Linked DNA regions of Homo sapiens: region 2 is linked to region 1. The links are contacts of gene promoters, found by promoter capture Hi-C in human tissues and cell types (Jung and others, 2019). All regions are on one chromosome and are shown on one strand. Each heading gives the region's core, a stretch centred on a gene start or on the middle of the fragment in contact. The rest is flanking DNA. Distances are from core to core; before and after follow the strand shown. Region 1 holds the start of SCNN1A (sodium channel epithelial 1 subunit alpha). Region 2 overlaps VAMP1 (vesicle associated membrane protein 1).

What was found. The method cuts DNA at HindIII sites, captures the fragments that hold promoters and counts their contacts. A contact is called where the count stands out against the background at its distance.
Region 2: a fragment that was not itself captured here is called in contact with the fragment with the promoter of SCNN1A in region 1 in 4 of the 25 tissues and cell types used here (liver, lymphoblastoid cells, mesendoderm cells and 1 more).

Annotation. Positions count from the first base shown.
Region 1 is chr12:6,372,940-6,377,582 of GRCh38, forward strand. It overlaps SCNN1A (sodium channel epithelial 1 subunit alpha), which reads right to left and starts at 2,624. Exons shown (of 13, transcript NM_001038.6): 1 at 2,566-2,624; 2 at 1,429-1,898. The coding sequence starts at 1,844. LOC105369626 (a long non-coding RNA gene) reads left to right here. Exons shown (of 4, transcript XR_931591.3): 4 at 216-636. It also overlaps a transcript of LTBR not described here. RefSeq lists enhancers at 1,031-1,635, 3,452-4,056. The HindIII fragment of the contact is 22,523 bases long and covers 1-4,643 here.
Region 2 is chr12:6,464,962-6,468,722 of GRCh38, forward strand. It overlaps VAMP1 (vesicle associated membrane protein 1), which reads right to left. Exons shown (of 5, transcript NM_014231.5): 2 at 1,264-1,390; 3 at 881-1,039. It also overlaps a transcript of TAPBPL not described here. Among named protein-coding and RNA genes, the nearest start is that of VAMP1, 3.8 kb to the right of the region's middle. The HindIII fragment of the contact is 4,857 bases long and covers 1-3,679 here.

The DNA of each region.
Region 1 (4,643 bases), core at 1,374-3,873:
TGACTTGCCTCTCTTTGCCTTAGTTTCCTCAAGTGTAAAATAGGGATAACAATAGCACCGGGCTTGTAAGATGTGAGAATGAAATGAGATACCCAAGACACCTTCGCAGCGTCTGTGCACACGGCAGCTTCCTAAGGAAATGGTCCCTACCTGGGACATTATACAGACGTTAATCAACGAAATGACCTGGCTTTTTTTTTTCTCTCTCTCTCCAGGACAGGACGTCCCACCCTTTCTTAGTCCGTAACGCACCTTTGGACATGATGGAATATACGAAGGGGCCTCCACCCACAGCATGACCAATCCCCAGCATCCAAAATCGCACACATACCAATATGTGCACACACACACTCACACCCACACCCATAAAGATTTTGCACTCCTTGAAGGTACACTAACTCACCATTTTTATCATACTTATCCCAGTGTGCCACAGTTACTGGCTTATATGCCTGTCTCTGCTATCTTATTTTATCTGTCTCCACAACACAGCAAACTACCTGGCCTTCAATAAAGGGCTTATGAATTATTCATGAATCCATTTTGCCAGGTGCCTAGCCCTGTGTCTGGCTTGAAGCAGGTGTTCCCAAGGTGTGGCATGGCTGAGTGAATACAAATAAAAGGTATACAAAAGCACTCAGCCCTGCCCTCCTCTCTTCTCCACGCTTACCACCTGCTCCGGTTTCCAGACCCAACATTGGCAAAGAGCACCGATGAAACCCAAAAGTTCAGGACACACCCAAGCACGTAAAGGTCAGGCACCTGGGCAGGTCAACAGTGCAGCATTTTAGCCTGGGTCTTTTGGGGGAAGAGCTTCACAAGGAGCTGCTCTCTAGCCTGACCCATTCTCCTTGTTCTGTAAGGCCCCTGCCCCCAGCCTTTGGGCTCACTTGCAGCCCTAACCTCCACGATCCCCCTCTTTGCTTTCTCCATAATAAATTCCCCTTCTAAACAAAGACTGACAGCACCACCTCCACAGCACCTGCACGGTCTCGCCTCCCCTCACCTAGCCTCACCCCTCCATCAGACTCTCCTGCTGAGGTGGACGAGGTCTTATACTTTGCTGGCATCTTGCTCCAGAAAAGGGATGCAGCTGAGCACACCCCTGCCCTTTTGCAAGCACTCCCTCCCACTTGCAGGAGGGAGAAGGGAATGGGAGGGAAGGAGAAGAGAGGGCAGGGGAGGGCAATGCTGCTCCAACAACCACACTCTGGGTGAGCCTGGGGTGCTAGGATGGCTCCACTGGGCAGGGACGCCAGTCCAGTAAGCTGGAGGCTCCTCATTTTGCCAGCAGTGAGCTCTACCTGGGACAGGGGTGTCAGTTCCCACCCTCAGGTCTGAGGCTCTGCCTGCCCAGTGAGCACCTCAGCACCCTGGACCACCCTTCCAGGCGCAGGCACCAGGGAAGGGGCAGAGGGACTAACCGACCTGTAGGGATTGAGGGTGCAGATGGTCACTGCGGGGAAGACGAGCTTGTCCGAGTTGAGGTTGATGTTGAGGCTGACGGGGTAGCTGAAGTACTCTCCGAAAAGCAGGCCGAATTGCCAGTACATCATGCCAAAGGTGCAGAGCCACAGCACTGCCCAGAAGGCCGTCTTCATGCGGTTGTGCTGGGAGCACACCAGGCGGATGGCGCCGTGGATGGTGGTGTTGTTGCAGAAGAACTCGAAGAGCTCTCGGTAGGAGCGGTGGAACTCGATCAGGGCCTCCTCCTCCGCCGTGGGCTGCTGGGGCGCCGCAGGTTCGGGGCCCAGCCCCTGCTCCTCACGCTTGTTCCCCTTCATGAGCCCTGGAGTGGACTGTGGAGGGCTAGAGTCCTGCTCCTCCAGCTTGTTCCCCTCCATGAGACCTGGTATGGGCTGCAGAGGTCTAGGGTCCTGCTCCTCCAGCTTGTTCCCCTTCATGAGCCCCGGAGTGGATTGGGGAGAGCAAGGGTCAGGGTCAAGGCTGAGCTCTGGGCCCTGAGTGCCCTCTCCCATCACCCCTGGAACCCGAGTGAGGCTGCCCCTGGCCATGCCCATGTCCCACCCTGCGCCCACATTCTCCCACTCCTCCCTCCCTCCTCCACCTTTCCTGGAGCCAGCAGACCTGCGGGAGTTGGGGCCAAAAGTGCCGGAGCTGGGCTTCCCTAGAACGGCCTCTCCTCTGCTTCCCTGATAGGGCCACCTTTCGAGTTTTGTCCTAGCACCTCCCTTTCTGTCTCTGCCCCCTTCCTTTGGTCTTCTTCCTCCAGGATCTGTGTCTCAGCTCCTGCCTCTCACTCCCTCTCTATCTGCCTTCTGTTTCTCTTTGGGTCTCTCCTGCTCTCCTCTTTCTGGCCTGCCTCCTCTCTCTAATCCTGCCTCTCTTCCTCTCCCCCCCTTGCCTTGCCCCCTCTCACTCTAGGCCCTCAGCTCCAGCCTCTGGCCCTGACCTCGAGCTGTGTCCTGATTCTGTCTCTGCCCCAGGACTGCAGGGCTCCAGGAGGTCTGGGCTGCCTCCAGCTTCCCACTCCCAGGTTGCGGCTGGACTGGGACTGGTTCCTTTCCAGTTGAATCTGGCAGCCAAACCTCTCCTCCCCCTCACCTGACAGGTGCAGCGGCCTGGCTGGGGAGCCCGCCCGCTGGCCGGCCAGGGATGGAAGCGACAGGAATCTCATTAGCATCTCAATTAAAGGTGAGCAGGGCGGGGGGAGGGGCTGAGGAGGAGTCAGAGCCGGGAGTTTTCCGAAGGAAGGAGGGCTCCCGAGGGCAGGTGAACTGGGAGTACTGGACCTGAGAAGGCGGACTCTGGGCAGGGGCTTTAGACGCAGACAGGCAAGGAGGCTGGGGGACAGGATGGCAGGTGAGGGGCAAAGATCTGAACAAGTAGAAGGATCCTGAGCCCACAGCTAGGAGGGCAACACAAGGAGAAGGGGCCAGCCAGGCTGAGAGGGCCTGGGTGGGGAACCGGGAGGACAGGAGGGCAGAAAGAGGGAGACAATAGAGAGGGACAGCGAAGGACAGAGAGATAGGGATGGAGGAGGGGCACTGAGTGAGTAGAGGCAGGTGGGGGGCAGTGGTGGGGGCAAATAGAAGGAGCCAGCACCAAAGGGAGTCTGTCTCCAGGAAGGAGAGCAAGGGGGGAGTCCCAAGTGTGCTTCCAGGAGCTAGAGGCTCAGCAAGTGGGCAGCCCTCCAAGGGCACCCACAGGTCAGCCTCACCCTCAGGCCCTGCAGAGAAGAGAGAAGAGGTCTCTGCAGGTCTCCTCCCCGCTCACTAAGTGGGAGCAGCGCACTCAGGTGGGATGCGTCTGCCTCCTCCTGGTCCCTCCTCTTTCCTGCTGATTCCTCGCCACCCCCTCCAACCTTGTCCAGACCCGGGAGGGGCCCAGGTGAAGCTGGGGGCTAGGCGGGGCCCTAGGACATTCTGTTCTTTTTTACACTGTTGGCTGCCAGGCCAGGAATGTGTAATCGCCCCTGCTGTGGTCACAGAGTTGCAGGAATGTGGGCAACCAGAGGCAGCGCGAGGGCCACGCAGGACACTGTGGACACAGACCCGGAGCCCAGGAAGAGGCAGGGAAAGCAGGCACTGAAGGTGCAGGGAGGATGTGGCCAGCGCTGGAAAGGAAGAGGGTGGGCATGGCACACGCCTAGACAGGCCCTGGGAGGAGGAGAAATTCGTTGATGGGCTATATTTTCTCCAAAATCTCTTTCCAAACTTAATGCAGCAAAAGGATAAGGAGTGGAGTGCCAAGTGGTGAGCAAGGAGAGAGAGGAGGGTCAGAGAATCAGACCCAAAAAGGGCTGGAGGAGACTCGGGAGAGCCACCCACACAACCCAGGCCCTGCACGCGGCAGGGAAGGCTGCCGCTTCCTCACGGGCCCCACAGGAGGCAGCCCAGAGTGCAGGAATGTGGTCACTGGCTTGTCCTGCCTCCCTCCACAAGCCAGCAGACAAAGGCCCAGCCTGAGCATTGATACACACCGGGGGAGGAGATAGGCCTGCAATACAATAAGATAAGGTTTCTATTTGTACACTTTAAAAGATTGTCTTTAAAACGGACTTCTAACAAAAGTGCAGATCTCAGATTTCTCAGAGATAAGACATAAGAGCCAAGGGCTAGGGGAGCCTAGGGGCTCACTGCAGGAGACTCAGGAAGCCTTCCCAGAGAAGGTGTCATCTCTGCTGAATCTTGACAAGCAAGGAGTTTAGCAGGCAAAGAAGAGAAAAGGCAGTACTCCAGGCTCAGGGTCCAACCTGGTCTGTGGCTTCCTCTCTTGCGGCAGTCTCTTGCGACTTCTTAAAGTGAAAGCCGGTGTCAACCAGGATTCCAAACCAGGTTCCCTTGCTTACCTTGATACTGCTCATGATACCTCCCCTTGGAAGGGACAGCTGGATTTTTCTTCATTGTCCTAATGAAGAAACTGACCCTTCCCAAGGATAAATCAGTTTTCTGAGGTTAGAAAACAAAATAGGAGCAGAGCTATAAACAGAATTCAGAATTCTCCTCCTCCTCTGGGGCTATCTACTTAGCGCTTTTGCCATTTACTTCCTGAGACAGACTCATGGGGGATCGGGGCTCAGGTGCACCTGGATGTGAAAGCCGGGAAGGCCTCCCTCACTCCCACACAGAGCCCGTGGATTCGTCTGCTCTCTGGGTGCTGGGTTATCTCCTTGGCTCTGT
Region 2 (3,761 bases), core at 1-2,500, 91 kb after region 1:
AATGAGCCCTTGGATTTCAGGAATGAGGAAAAGAGCCACATCTCTAGTGGGAAACAGAATTCCTTCCATCCTTGGGACAATGGAAAAAACCACCCATCACCCAGGAGACCTGCAGGCCTCTTAGAGAGGCCCTACCCTTCTGCTTCCCAGGGGATCATAACCACAGTATGTCTGTAGCTTTTCAGATTCATCACAGGACCTGCATTGAGCTCCTTTTTGCTTAGTTCCTGGTGTCTTGGGGCTTTAGAAGGCATTCCAATAGAGATACAGACTCTGGATATTTAACCAATTAGTTCAATTTTCACTGTGAAGTGTTCAGCTCATTCTCAAAAGTTGCAGTTATTTAAAAATATATATTTCAATCTGAGAAAGCTGATTTAAAAGAAAAAGAAAAAAGTATATATATATATAAATGTATATATATGTATATATATATATAAATGTATATATATGTATATATATATATAAATGTATATATATGTATATATACATATGTGTATATATAGTGTGTGTGTGTGTGTGTGTGTGTGTATGTATATATGCCTGAGCCATTGTGCTGATGTTGGGTGTGTCTGAGGATGAGACAGGTGAAATTTTTTGCAGGCAACTCCTTTGGGGTAAAGCTCCTTAACTAACCATTCCAAACTCCTCAGGGTATCACTTTTTCCCTGATAGCGGTTCTAAATACTCTAGCCTACCCTGGTGGCCAATTCTGGGTAATGCAATCTCAAGAGGAGGCTTTCCAGATTTCCTCCCAAGCGTTATGCTGGTCAGAGAGATCCTGCACCATTAGAGGGAAGAAATGTAGAAGCTGAGGGTTTTCTTGCCTTCTACCAGTGGAAGCCCAGGAAAAGATGGAGGAGGGGACAAGAAAATTCACCTTGCAGTTTTTCCACCAATACTTCCTCTTTAGCTTGGCAGCACTGCTCTCAAATTGTGATGCTCCTGCCTGCAAGGCATCAGCTCGGTCATCCAGCTCTGACAGCTTCTGGTCCCTCTCCAGGACCTTGTCCACGTTCACACGTATGATGTCCACCACCTGAGGAGGGCACAGAAACAAAGCAGCTAAGCTTCCTGCCAGAGACAGAGGAAAGGACAACAACCAGAGAATCACAAGTCTGGCCCTGTGCAACTCTAAAGGGTGCTTTGCCTCTCAGGGCCTTTGACTATTCTCCTACGAAAAAAGGAGAAAAGATAAGAAGTTCCCTTTTGTTTCCAAACTCCTAGATTTGGAAACTTTCAGAGAAACAGCTATCTACCTACCTCCTCCACTTGTGCCTGGGTTTGCTGTAGTCGTCTGTTACTGGTCATGTTAGGAGGAGGGCCAGGGGGACCCCCACCTGGGGCAGTCCCTTCTGTCCCTTCAGCAGGTGGCTGAGCTGGAGCAGACCTGTGGAAAGACATGTGCAGAGTACACAAAGTGACCAAGACAAGAAAGGAGCTGGGCGTGGTAGCACACACCTGTAGTCCCAGCTACTCAAGAGGCTGAAGTGGGAGGAGCGCTTGAGCCCAGGAGTTCGAGGCCAGCCTGGGCATCATAGCGAGACCCCATCTCTAAAAAAACAGACAAAAAGAAAGGACTCACATGCATCCTCACCCCAAACCACTTAAACAATTATGATTAGGCTATACAAAACTAGAATGGATTCTTGCTCCTTGGCAATCTGAAGTAGGGAGACAAACCATAGAGGCAAGAAGTAAAAGATGAAAGACTCTGCAACAACATTTGGATGGGGTTCAGGGACATCCAGGATGGCATCAAGACATCTCATCTGGGGCTATCCTTTGACTCAACTCAAACAAGTCCTCTGCCATGATGGCTACAGGGACATATGGCCTAGCCTTGTCCTAAATGGCATTTCCCCGCTGATATGGTTTGGCTGTGTCCCCACCCAAATCTCAACTTCAATTGTATCACCCAGAATTCCCACATGTTGTGGGAGGGACTCAGGGGAGGTAACTGAATCATGGGGCCCATCTTTCCGGTGCTATTCTGGTGATAGTGACGAAGTCTCATGAGATCTGATGGGTTTATCAGTGGTTTCTGCTTTTGCTTCTTCCACATTTTCTCTTGCTGCTGCCATGTAAGAAGTGCCTTTCACCTGCCGCCATGATTCTGAGGCCTTCCCAGCCATGTGGAACTGTAAGTCCAATTAAACCTCTTTTTCTTCCCAGTCTTGGGTATGTCTTTATCAGCAGCATGAAAACAGACTAATACAGTAAATTGGTACCAGTAGAGTGGGGTGTTGCTGAAAAGATACCCAAAAATGTGGAAGCGACTTTGGAACTGGGTTAACAGGGAGAGGATGGAACAGTTTGGAGGGCTCAGAAGAAGACAGGAAAATGCGGGAAAGTTTGGAACCTCCTAGAGACTTGTTGAATGGCTTTGACAAAAATGCTGTTAGTGATATGAACAATAAGGTCCAGGCTGAGGTGGTCTCAGATGGAGATGAGGAACTTGTTGGGAACTGAAGCAAAGGTGACTCTTGTTATGTTTTGGCAAAAAGACTGGCAGCATTTTGCCCCTGCCCTAGAAATTTGTGGAACTTTGAACTTGAGAGAGATAATTTAGGGTATCTGGCAGAAGAAAAGACGCAGTACTAAAGAAAAAAACCATTTTTTTGAGAAGAAATTCAAGGCAGCTGCAGAAATTTGCATAAGTAGCAAGGAACCTAGTGTTAGCCCCTAAGACCATGGGGAAAATGTCTCCAGGCCATGTCAGAAGCCTTCATAGCAGCCCCTCCCATCACAGGCCTGGAGGCCCAGGAGGAAAAAGTTATTTTGTGGGCCAGGCCCAGGGTCCCCATGCTGTGTGCAGCCTAGGGACTTAGTGCCCTGTGTCCCAGCCGCTCCCACTGTGGCTGAGAGGGGCCAATGCAGGGCTCGGGCCGTGGCTTCAGAGGGTGGAAGCCCCAAGCCTTGGCAGCTTCCACATGGTGTTGAGCCTGCAGATGCACAGAAGGCAAGAACTGAGGTTCGGGAACCTCCGTCTAGACTTCAGAAGATGTATGGAAACGCCTGGATGTCCAGGCAAAAGTTTGCTGCAAGGGCAGGGCCCTCATGGAGAACCTCTGCTAGTGTAGTACAGAAGGGACATGTGGGGTTGGAGCCCCCACACAGAGTCCCCACTGGAACACTGCCTAGTGGAGCTATGAGAAAAAGGTCACCATTCTCCAGACCCCAGAATGGTAGATCCACTGGTAGCTTGCACCGTGCGCCTGGAAAAGCCACAGACACTCAATGCCAGTCCGTGAAGGGAGCCAGGAGGGAGGCTGTACACTGTAATGTCTGTCAGCTCACCCCTTTTTATATTCAAGTTATTGGTTATGGTTATTGGTTTATATGCCCAGTTATTGGTTATGCTTCACACAAGATGAGGAAATCAGGGCTGCCATAAGGGCAGCTTGGAAAATCACCAAAGGCAAAGTCTATGTAGGTGGAGTGAGTCAGGACTGTTTGTTTGCTTTGTTTTTGGCAGAGAAAATGGGGGTTTCACTTAGATAGAATCTGGGGCCCAAAGCAATTACATTAGTTATGGAAACTGTTCCAAGAGCATAGACAGGAAGCAAAAATGCTAGAAATTGTCCTCAATGTGCATGCATTATAGACATTCTGTCCCTTCCTTTTCTGGATTTGACAGTCTCAGATGACTCCCTTGGTTACTTACATCCCAAAGAGAGATCTTGGTTTACTGTACTATACACACAGAGAATGTTCTCTCATTCTGTACCACTCAAAGTTAGTGTGTGGTCTTCAAGACA